Regions from separate parts of the Homo sapiens genome. Here region 2 is linked to region 1. The links are contacts of gene promoters, found by promoter capture Hi-C in human tissues and cell types (Jung and others, 2019). All regions are on one chromosome and are shown on one strand. The core of a region is centred on a gene start or on the middle of the fragment in contact, and the rest is flanking DNA. Distances in the headings are between cores, read along the strand shown.

Evidence for each region. The method cuts DNA at HindIII sites, captures the fragments that hold promoters and counts their contacts. A contact is called where the count stands out against the background at its distance.
Region 2: a contact is called between a fragment that was not itself captured here and the fragment with the promoter of CHD9 in region 1, in 1 of the 25 tissues and cell types used here (mesendoderm cells).

Annotation. Positions count from the first base shown.
Region 1 is chr16:53,052,909-53,057,951 of GRCh38, reverse strand. CHD9 (chromodomain helicase DNA binding protein 9) reads right to left here and starts at 2,961. Exons shown (of 39, transcript NM_001308319.2): 1 at 2,875-2,961. RefSeq lists enhancers at 2,574-2,623, 2,136-2,667. The HindIII fragment of the contact is 13,928 bases long and covers 1-5,043 here.
Region 2 is chr16:51,899,605-51,905,282 of GRCh38, reverse strand. No RefSeq gene overlaps it. Among named protein-coding and RNA genes, the nearest start is that of LINC01571, 140 kb to the right of the region's middle. The HindIII fragment of the contact is 4,381 bases long and covers 1-4,307 here.

The DNA of each region.
Region 1 (5,043 bases), core at 1,712-4,211:
CACGTCAACTGTACACTTGGGGCCATTTCAAACAGCGACATCACAAACAAAAACACACAAACATGCAAAAAATGTGGCACTAAGTACACCACAAAAGGGACACTTGTTTATAGCACAAGAGCTGAAACCAGAAAGCAGCGTGTCCTCCTGTTTGCCCTTGGCTGGAAATGTGCACGTTGGGTGACTCAACTTTTTCACTATTCTACGTGCATCCATATATGACTGTGAAAGTGTCATGGATATTGATTTGGAAGTTACGCAGACATTATTTTTCTTTTTTCTTTCTTTTTTTTTTTTGAGATGGAGTTTCGCTGTTGTTGCCCAGGCTGGAGTACAATGGCGTGATCTTGGCTCACTGCAACTTCCACCTCCCAGGTTCAAGCAATTCTCCTGCCTCAGCCTCCCAAGCAGCTGGGATTACGGGCTCTTGCCACCACGCCCAGCTAATTTTTTGAATTTTTAGTAGAGACGGGGTTTTGCCATGTTGGCCAGGCTGGTCTCGAACTCTTGACCTCAGGTATCCACCCACCTCGGCCTCCCAAAGTGCTGGGATTACAGGCATGAGCCACTGCACCCGGCCTTTTTTCCTCTTTTTTTTTTTAAATGAGCCAAGGTCTCTCTATGCTGTCCAGGCTGGTCTCAAACTCCTTAGCTCAAGTGATTAGGCTGGTGTCAAACTCCTAAATTCAAACTCCTAACCTCACACCTCAGTCTCCCAAAGTGCTGGGATTACAGGTGTGAGCCACCACACCCGGCCACAAACATATTTTTTTAAAAATTCTTTAATTATATAATTTTTAAAATAAAGATATAGGGTCTTACTGTGTTACCCAGGCTGATCTGGAACTCCTAGCCTCAAGTAATCTTTCTGCCTCAGCTTCCCAAAGTACTGGGATTATATGCATGAGCCACCATGCCTGGCCACAAACAAATTTTTTTTAAGAATTATTCAATGTGTATAATTTTTAAGCAAACAGGGCCTTGCTCTGTTGCACAGGCTGATCTGAAACTCCTAGCCTCAAGCGATCCTCCTGCCTCAGCCTCTCAAAGTGCTGGGATTACAGGGAAGAATTTGCAAATTTAGAACTTGTGAATAATGAGAATCTACTGCACTTTCTTCCTGTTTCTCTCATTCGGGGCTGGCTGAATTCTGTCTTACTCATATTTTATCTCTAGCATCTGGAAAACTGCCTGGCCCACAGTAGGCTCTCAATAATAAATGTATTTCCAATGAGCGAATGAGTCAATTCAGTGGAAGTGCTCAGCTCACAGCAGTGATAGCTAGTGTTTGTGAAGACACACCACGCGCCTGCCCCGTGCACGCTGTCCTGGTCAACAAGGGAAACAGCAGAGTATTGTTCTTTTGCACCTGAGCTCAAGAGCAGACTGCCTGGGTTCAAATATGGGACATGCTTCTTATTAATTAATTATATAACTTCGAGCAAGATCATTGGCCTCTCTGAGCCTCAGTTTCCTTGGCTATCAAATGCAGTATTCATAGTTCTACCGTGGAAGTTATGGTCAGGAGTCTAACTTGGCCCTGCACAGAAAGCCTCTAGCATAGGGTGAACCCTTAGTAAACAGTAGCTTTTATTGTGAATAATTCCCAAGGCAACCCGATTTTCACACCCATTTTGCAGATACAAAAACTGAAGCTGAGGATGGTTCAGTGAGTTTCCAAGGTCACAAAGGAAGGGCTGCCTATGGGGGGGAATCTATGCCCATGTTAGTAACACTGCTGTTATATAAACATAAGGGGTCAGCGGGGCGCAGCGGCTCATGCCTATAATCCCAGCACTTTGGGAGGCCGAGGCTGGAGAATGGCTTGAGCCTAGGAGTTTGAGACCATCCTGGGGAATATAGTGAGGCCCTATCTCTATAAAACAAACAAACATAAGGGCTCATTTTTACTAGTTGTAAAAGGGCCCTTTTACTAGTTGTAAAAAAGGCTCGTTATAAGGCCTCTCACTGCCTAATCAGCTAGGTTTGCCAAAATGAGGAAGACAGCTCCAGCCAGTCTCCTGATCTTCTCTGGGATCAGGGTGGGGAGGAACCCCCTTCCTACCCATAAACCCCTAAGAGTCTTCGCTCACATTCCACACTGGTGTCTTTCTGTTCCTTGTCCACTTTCGAGTTCAACCCTTTCAGAACCAGCCCTACTGTGGGGGGTGGGGGATGGTTAGTTTGTTATCTTGGGTTTGACAGTACAAAGGCAGAGGCATTTCCTGCTTAAAAGGCACATGAGAAAGGAGGAGGAGGGCGAACTGGAGGAATAGGAGGAGGAGGGAATCATCAGCATTCTGGGTTAGAACAAACAAATGTCCTCCGTTTTTCTCCAACTCCTTAGATCAAGGGTCCTCAAATTTGGCTGCCAGCTGGAATCTCTTGCAAACATTTTAATACCCAGATGTCCAGTCCCCCACCCAGACCAATCACATCTGAGTCTCTGGGGGGGGGCGGGGGTGGAACTAGGGCATCGGTATTTTTTTAATGCTTCCCAAGCAACGCCAACGGGCAGACAAGTTTAAGAAGTGGTGCTCTGGACCTTATCAGCACTCGGCTGCCACCCTGGAGTGGCTCTGGGCGACAGTGGCTGCTTTCCGCTTCGAGGACGCCCGGCTTGGGGATTCGGGCATGCTCTGGGAGGCGAGGGCTGGGGAGGATGCGAGCGTGCCAGCGACCTGGTGCTCTGCCTTGCTCTAGGCCCAGCTCCGAGGCTGCGGGTCTCTGGGTCCCCCCCACGGCTACAACACGTGCTGCCGCCCCGACTCCTCCGGTTATCTCTGCAGACCGCAAGCGGTGCCCAGCGGCCGCCCCGCTGTCCACCCCGACCTCAGAGGCTCCAGGGAGACGCCCGGGGCTCAGGAATCCTACCTTGGCTGCCGGCGCTGCCCTCCAGTCCCCGGAATCCTGGGACTCAGGTTCGAGCTGTCGCTGTCGCTGTCGCTGCGCCTGTGAAGCGCCCACTAGAGCGCAGGCGCCACCTAGTGGGCGCGGGGCGGCTGCGCAGGGACCGCGCTGGCAGGCGGGAGCGCAGTCCAGGGCGGAAATGCAGCCAGGGCTTCTTCCCACGTGGGCGGTTTTCCAGCGCGCCGCCAGCCCTGTGGCCAGATCCGGCCTGGGGCGGGACCACCTTCACCCGCTGCGGGGCACTGGGATCTAAACTTGGTGAACTTTCTCTTGGGGCACGGAGGGACCCCTCGGCCTGGTATCCATCCTCCGGTTTTCCGGGCTGAGCACAAGGATCTTTCCCTTCATCCAGCAGCTTTCAGTGCACCCCACCTTTGGCACTGCTTCTCTTTTAAATGTGCTGGGACCATCCGAGGCTGGGGTTCTCTCCAACCCAGGGAGGCCCTTCGCCTATCAGCAACCATTTTTTCCTGCCACCCCCTAAACCGTCCCTGAATGAGAGAAACAGCCTGCTCTGCTGGCTTGCTCTACAGAGGCCAGGACTGGTGGAGGATGGGTGTGTGCCAGCGACCTCGTGCTCTGCTCTGCTGGAAGGCCTTCTCTGAGCAGTGGAAGGGGAAGGGGCGGCTTAAGGGAATTGTGTTTTTTGTTTTTTGTTTTGTTTTGTTTTGTTTTTGTAGAGACAAGGTCTCTCTATGTTGCCCTGGTGGCTCTTGAACTCCTGGTCTCAAGCGATCCTCTCACCTGCAGCCTCCCAAAGCACTGGGATTACCGGAGTAAACTATGGCTCCCAGCTGCCTGGTATTCTTTCAATGAAGACATGCCAAAACGCTTACAAATATGGTGGACATTTAATGGTTTATATTTCATTTATGTCTTCATTTAACAACGATTAACTGAGCACCTACTATGTGCCACTTTTCTACAATCAAGGGATACAATGAAGAACAAAACACAAAAATCTCTGCTTTTGTTGAATTCACATTTAATGTAACACATGAATACTTTTAACACACCCAACGATCTAATGCAAAGCGATTGAGCTCGTTGTGAGATAAGTAGAGGATTTATTAAAAATATCTATATTTAGGGCCAGGCACCGTAGCTCACGCCTGTAATCCCAGCACTTTGGAAGGCTGAGGCAAGAGGATCGCTTGAGGTCAGGAGTTTGAGACCAGCCTAGCCAACATGGCAAAACCCAGTCTCTACAAAAAATACAAAAATTAGCCGGGCGTGGTGGCAGGAGCCTGTAATCCCAACTACTCCAAGGCTGAGGTGGGAGAATCCCTTGAACCCGGAAGGAGGAGGTTGCAGTGAGCTGAGATCGCACCACTGCACTCCAGCCTGGGTGACAGAGTGAGACTCTGCCTCAAAATCAATCAATCAATCAATCAATCAATCTATGTTTAGGGCGCCAAGGGCAGACATTCCTGGTGATGGATATAAGCATTACAGAGTTCTATGGGAACGTCTTCACGTTTTCTTGTAATCCTGGCAGTTTATCTCTGTGGCAACATTTGGAGATAATGCCTTCAGTGGAAATTTCAGGTGATTTGTGAAAGTTAGGCCTGCAATCCTCCTTTCCCCCTCCCCCCGGCCCCCACTCTGCTCCCCCAGGACGCTCTGTCATTGTTCTAGCCCAGTGTGAGTTTGTGTGTGAGTGTGTGCCTATTTAACCTTTGGACTCTCTGTACTGGTGTAATCTGGTCAAAGTGAATATCAAGGGCAGAGGAGGACAAGGAGGAGCAGGAGGAGAAGGAGGATGAGGAGCAGGAGGAGGAGCAGGAGGAGGAGGAGCAGGAGAAAGGAGGAGAAGCAGGAGCAGGAGGAAGAGGAGCAGGAGAAGAAGGAGCAGAAGGAGGAGGAGCAGGAGGAGGAGAAGGAGGAGGAGCAGGTGGAGGAGGAGGAGCAGGAGGAGGAGAAGCAGGAGGAGCAGAAGGAGAGGAGGAGCAGGAAGAGGAGGAGAAAGAGCAGGAGGAAGAAGAGGAGGAGAAGCAGGAGGAGGAGGAGGAAGAGCAGGAGGAGGAGGAAGAGCAGGAGGAGGAGCAGGAGGAGGAGGAGAAGGAGCAGGAGGAAGAGGAGGAGAAGCAGGAGCAGGGGGAGGAGGAGGAGGCAGAGCAGGAGGAGGAGCAG
Region 2 (5,678 bases), core at 868-3,367, 1.2 Mb after region 1:
CCATTGGCAATGCCCTCAGGATGGTGAGGAGAGGAGCAAATGCACCACTCAATACTCACTTGTTTACACAAGATATAGTGAATGACTAAAGGGAAAATTGCTGATCTTATCAATGATTCGCTCAAGTAATCAATAGAACAAGTTTGCTCAATATTAAGCATCATGGGAAACTTTTTATATTCAGAATAAAAATGGAGACTATTGAAGATTTGGCTGGTGACTAAATTGTAGATACCAAGGAAGAAAGAAATGTAGATGAACAAGTGAATGCTGGTTCTAAATGACCATTTCCTTTGAATATTAAGTCCACTGTGACTGAACCATATAGATCAGTGGTCATTTCACTCTCCCAGGAAACCCTCGTTCACACTTAATTAACAAGTTATGCAATCTCCTTTGTAACAACAACCAAAAAGGACTTCAAGAAATATTTATAAAATAGGCACTTTTATAAACTTGTGTCTAAAGTAATCTGGTAGCCGAGAATTTCATGTGCTGAAATGTAACTGTCAAAAAAAAAAAAGGAAAAAAAAAAACCTCCCACCGTAATTTTAGGTAGCTTCATTCAAATGACAAGTCTCTAGGAATGTTTTAGGGAATTAGTGAATTTGAGTGAATATCAGACTCTCCTATTAGAAATCATTGATATTGTTGGATTTTATTATTTTCTTTTCTGTATTATTCTGATCTCTCAGATGCAAGTAACAAAAACTTGACAAACAAATGTAAACAAATATGGAGATTTTTGTTCACATAACTGAAAAGTTTAGGTTATCTGGCTTCAGAGAAGGATATATCCCAGTGTTCACATGACGCCATTAGGATTCAATATCTCTTGCCCCATCTCTTGGTTCTGCTTTCCCATGTACTGGCTTCATTCTCAGGCTGAACCCCTTAAAATGCTGGTCCTCTCAAAGCTCCAAGCTTACATCAGCCTTATAGCTCATACTTTCCATTTCAACAAAAGCCCAGGATGTAGTATCATTGGCCTGTCTTGAGTAACATGACCATCCATCTCTGAATGAGGACCATAACTAGACTGATAAATACAGTTACCTGCTCTAGAAACTCAACCTGCTAAAAGATGTGTTTGACATCATAGATTATACAGAGGTTTGTAAATCTGATTTAGATCATTGCATGACACCCCAGAAAGAAAATCTTTTTGATAGATATTATAAAATGAAACTCTCCTTGGTCATAACCCACCATCACTTTGCTGGTCTAGACTAGATTGCTTCCTTTCACAGCTATAGGATTGGCTTCTATAAACTTTTCTCCTCCTCCGGAAACTAGTGAGGGGTGCTTGTAGAGTCTTAGTGATCACAGATAACAAGACAAGAATAAGGGGAAGAGACAGGTGACTGGAAGATGAGGCATTCCCAATTGCTACATCATTGTGTATTCAGAAATCTTTAAACCTTATAGTGTAGAGGTTTATAATACAGGCTGAGAAATAAGACAGACTAGTATTTGTGTGCCAACTTTATTTTCTAAGATAAACCAGTTAACCAAATCAATAAAATGAAGATACTAGTATCTGCCCCATTAATAATAGCTACTCCAAGTAGGTGTGCCTAACTGTTGGCCAGAGTAGCTATCACTGTCACCCAACCCACCTAGTATTCTACCTTCATGGCCAGCACCCTCTCTCTTTTCCATGAGTCATAGGTTTCTCAAAATGAAGAGGTTCCTCTTTCTAACTTCTAGACTTTATTCTCACAGCACTCCCCAGTCTGATTAAATAAATTCTCAGGCAACCCATGTTCAAATCCTTCCTCTTTCACTTATTAGTTGGGTGACCTTGAGCAAGATGATCACTCTAAGCCTCAATCTTCTCATCTGTAAAATGGGGTTATTCACAGTAACCTCTCAAGAAGGTAGTGTAGCTTAAATTAGGTCGTATCTTTAAATTATTTAGAACACAATAGATGTCAAATAAATTTTATTCGTATTTATCAATTGCTTGCAAACTATGTGCTAGTTCTTGTTTTAAGCACTTTGAGAGTTTTAATTTATTTAATCCTATTATTTAAGATTTACCCTATCATTATGTTTATCTTAAAGACCAAAAAAGAAAGCTTCGAGAGGTTACCTGAGGTTACACTGCTGGTACATGGTAGGAGTGAGATTTAAATCCATTAATTTACTCACTCCATTATCTCCTCCCCTACCTACCTCTTACTGTAAAAAGATGAACTTATAGTCAGAACTGAATGGAGAATGTGATACCATGCCCTATCTCCTTGTGAGGCTTAAGTCCATTCTACTACTCATCAGTATATTTGCCCAGGGAGGTATTTAATTATGGACAAAGGCAACATTTAGTCTAAGAAGTCCCTATTATCTTTCATGCCTTGCTGCAAGCAGTAAAGATGCAGATACCACCATCTCACTGAAGCTTTATGGCTTCTCAGTGAGGAAGGCAACATGGAACCCCCAGTGTTACTTAGCCAGAATGTGGAAAACCCTATGATTTGAATCCAGGACTCTCTGTCCTCAAAGAGTTTGCTTTTTATGACCATGCCATACCATCGTGGAATGCAACGAAGAATGCTGAGAATACAGAGTAAATGTTTTCAGTGTCTCTGTGATATATGTTTTGTGAACCCATGTCAAATTCTTAGCTAAGTGAATACCTCTACTTATTTTTTTCTAACTCACATTGATTGAGCATTTACCATGATCCAGGCAGAAGCTGTATGAACCTTGGGCAAGAGATCACTTTTGACCTCTCCTGCCTGACTTTTGGACATTACCTAGGTTATTTCAGCTTGCTGTAACTCCTACCAGCCTTGCTGTGATGGGATACATTGGTTTGACTTTAGGATATGTTGTTAAAGTCATCAATTATCCCTGTTGGAAAACCTAAGGTTCATGTATCAAGTTTCCATGAAAAAAGAATTGAAGAGTAAAAAGCAATAAAAGGGGTAAAAGCATTGTGGGCTTACTTTCCTCATGGTGGTCATTTTGTTGGAATCATAAGCCTTATTGCAAAATGGATGAGAAAGGTGATGACTAATATCTTAGTTTATTCAGACTACTATAACAAAATATTGTAAACAGTAATTTTTTAAGCCACACAAGTTCATTTCTCATAGTTCTAGAGGCTGGGAAATCCAAGATCAAGGTGCAGCATATCTGGTGTCTGGTGAAGGCTCGCTTCTGCTTCCAAGATGATGCCTTGTTTCTGTGTTCTCACATGGCAGCAGATGGAAGGGCAAAAATTATGAATGCTATGTGAAGCCTCATTTATAAGGCCATGAAACCCATTTACAAAGGAGAATTCCTTATGATCTAATCAACTGCAAACATCCCTACCTCTTAATCCTATTGCATTTGGGATTAAGTTTCCACATGACTTGTGGAGAGACACAAACATTGAAAACATAACAGTTAGCTTAACCAGGTAGTTTAACACATGGTCCTCATCCTCTTACACTTTAGGTAACTTATTAGGCTTGAAAAAAAGTCAATGTTTCCATGAATTTGAAAATTAACCTAGCTCGTACTGGATTAAAAAATTACAAATTAGACCCAGTTAGAAGATAAATATTGTGCCAATCAAATTTGACCAACATTAATGAGTTATGTCTGTCAATGCAACAATTGCAAAATGCTTTTTCCCCCCTACTCTTTTTTTTCTGATATTTATTTGTATTTTTTAGTCTACTTGGACAACAGCATGTAAATTTGGGGAAAAGAGTCAATTAAAGCTTGCCAGCACAAATGCTTACAATTTACTAACTTCCCCCATGACCCTGCGTAGCATTATTCTAAAGTTTCTCTCTGTTGCAATTTGGGCTCTATTGTCTCTGAAATGACCCCCCTGGCTGAGAAGACCATCAAGAATATGCAGCATCTCAACCATCTCCCGCCCAGAGACGAGCCTGATTAATCCCGATTGAGTCTATGGAAAGCACACAAATATAAACTATTCATTTATTTCAAATCGGTGGGTGCCGTGGGGGAAGTTATCACATATAATCTAGTGTTAGTCTATCCACTGCATCATAAAAATTAATTTGTCTAATTAATGACATTAGTACTTTTATACATGCATAATTCATATTAATTGATAGGTCTGCCTAAAAAGAATACCTTTTGGAAGAAAAATGATCCCATTAGCACAAGTTTAATCCAAATCAGGGCTGACAAAGCATGGAGCCTTCAAGGCATATCTTCAGCTTTGTTAATTGTCATAAGCATTCTAAATTGATTATTCTTACATTAGCATGAGACATTTCATTCATCAATGCTTTGCTGTAAAGGAAATTTGTCTAATGGATTTGGGTAGCTCAACTAAATAAGTAGTATTTTTTCTAGGGTAGCTTGAGGGGCATTTGAAGCATATTAATTCACTAATACTGGAGGGAAGAAAAATTAGCAATGGAAATATATAGAAATATCATACAAAATTAGATTTCTGACACTGAATAATTTTTGTGATATCTATTTCAATGGTAATTGAGTGAGCATGCCTGCACTTTTATTGCTTTTCTGTTTTGCAAGCTCCATGATAAACAGCCAATGTTAATATTTCTTATGAGTTATGTTCCTGCACCTGGTAGGGCCACAGGGTTATGAAGTGGAGCATGAGTGAGATAAATATACATTTTCGGGAAGACTTCTAGGAGGCATAGGGATTACACAAGGATTGGCCATGGTGCCAGACACCCTGGGCTTCTGGGAAGACCATTCCTACAGGCACATTTGGCCAACTAAGCCATGGAAGACAATAAACATAGATGTCATTGTGTCTCTGTTCAAATAGACTCAAGAGCTGGAAATCCATGCAGTTTGGGGGCTGCTTCTTCATTTTTCATGAGTCATTGAAGAATTATTTTTAATGGCCAAAACCAAAGTTATTGGTTGATGGCCAAAGATTTACAGAAAGCTTCGCTGAGATACCCTGGTAGAGGGAAGGGAAAAGTTAAGAATGAGATCACTGAATATATTTAATATTTGCCTCTCTTCTCTTTTTTGTGTAAACAACTTCTGCACTATGGGTTCTGGGCACTGCTTAGAAGTATATTCTAGATGCAGCAGTATTTACACCGTTAGGATCTTGGTAGACTGGGGAAGTTGTCCACAGTGGTCTCTAATCTGGAATATCTTCTCCTGCTCCTCTTTCGTTCCCTTTTCCTCACCAGAATGGATTTAAATTATTTCCAATACTTCAGACTATCATAGGCACTGGAGTCACCAAACCTGTATGAAAGTCTCAGCAAAGCTATTCAGAAATAATGTGACTTTGGGCAAATTGATTAACATCTTTGAGCTCCAGTTTTTTTTTTTTTTTTTTTAAGACGGCATGAGGATGATATTAGTAGCAGTTGCAATGTGCAGTTGTGAGTGGTCATGTGCATGAGATAACCCATGCACATAGCACATTGCGTGTAGCATGTAAGAGTGGCTCAGTAAACTGAAACAAACAATATCAGCTATTATTTGGCTGATCCAAATGGAGAAAAGGGAAGGGTAGCCTCTCTTGTATTTTTATTCATTTTTTGAAATTTTCCCTTTTCTTCTATCTTGGAGGATTTTTGAGTCTAAGTAGCATGTTTTCATTAATCTCAATTCCCCCTTGTGTTTCAGAGTGGACTGTTTTGGTCACTTGCCACTCACAGAAATCCTGGGCTAAGGAAAAAGTGCTAACAACCTTCCATCCACCTTCA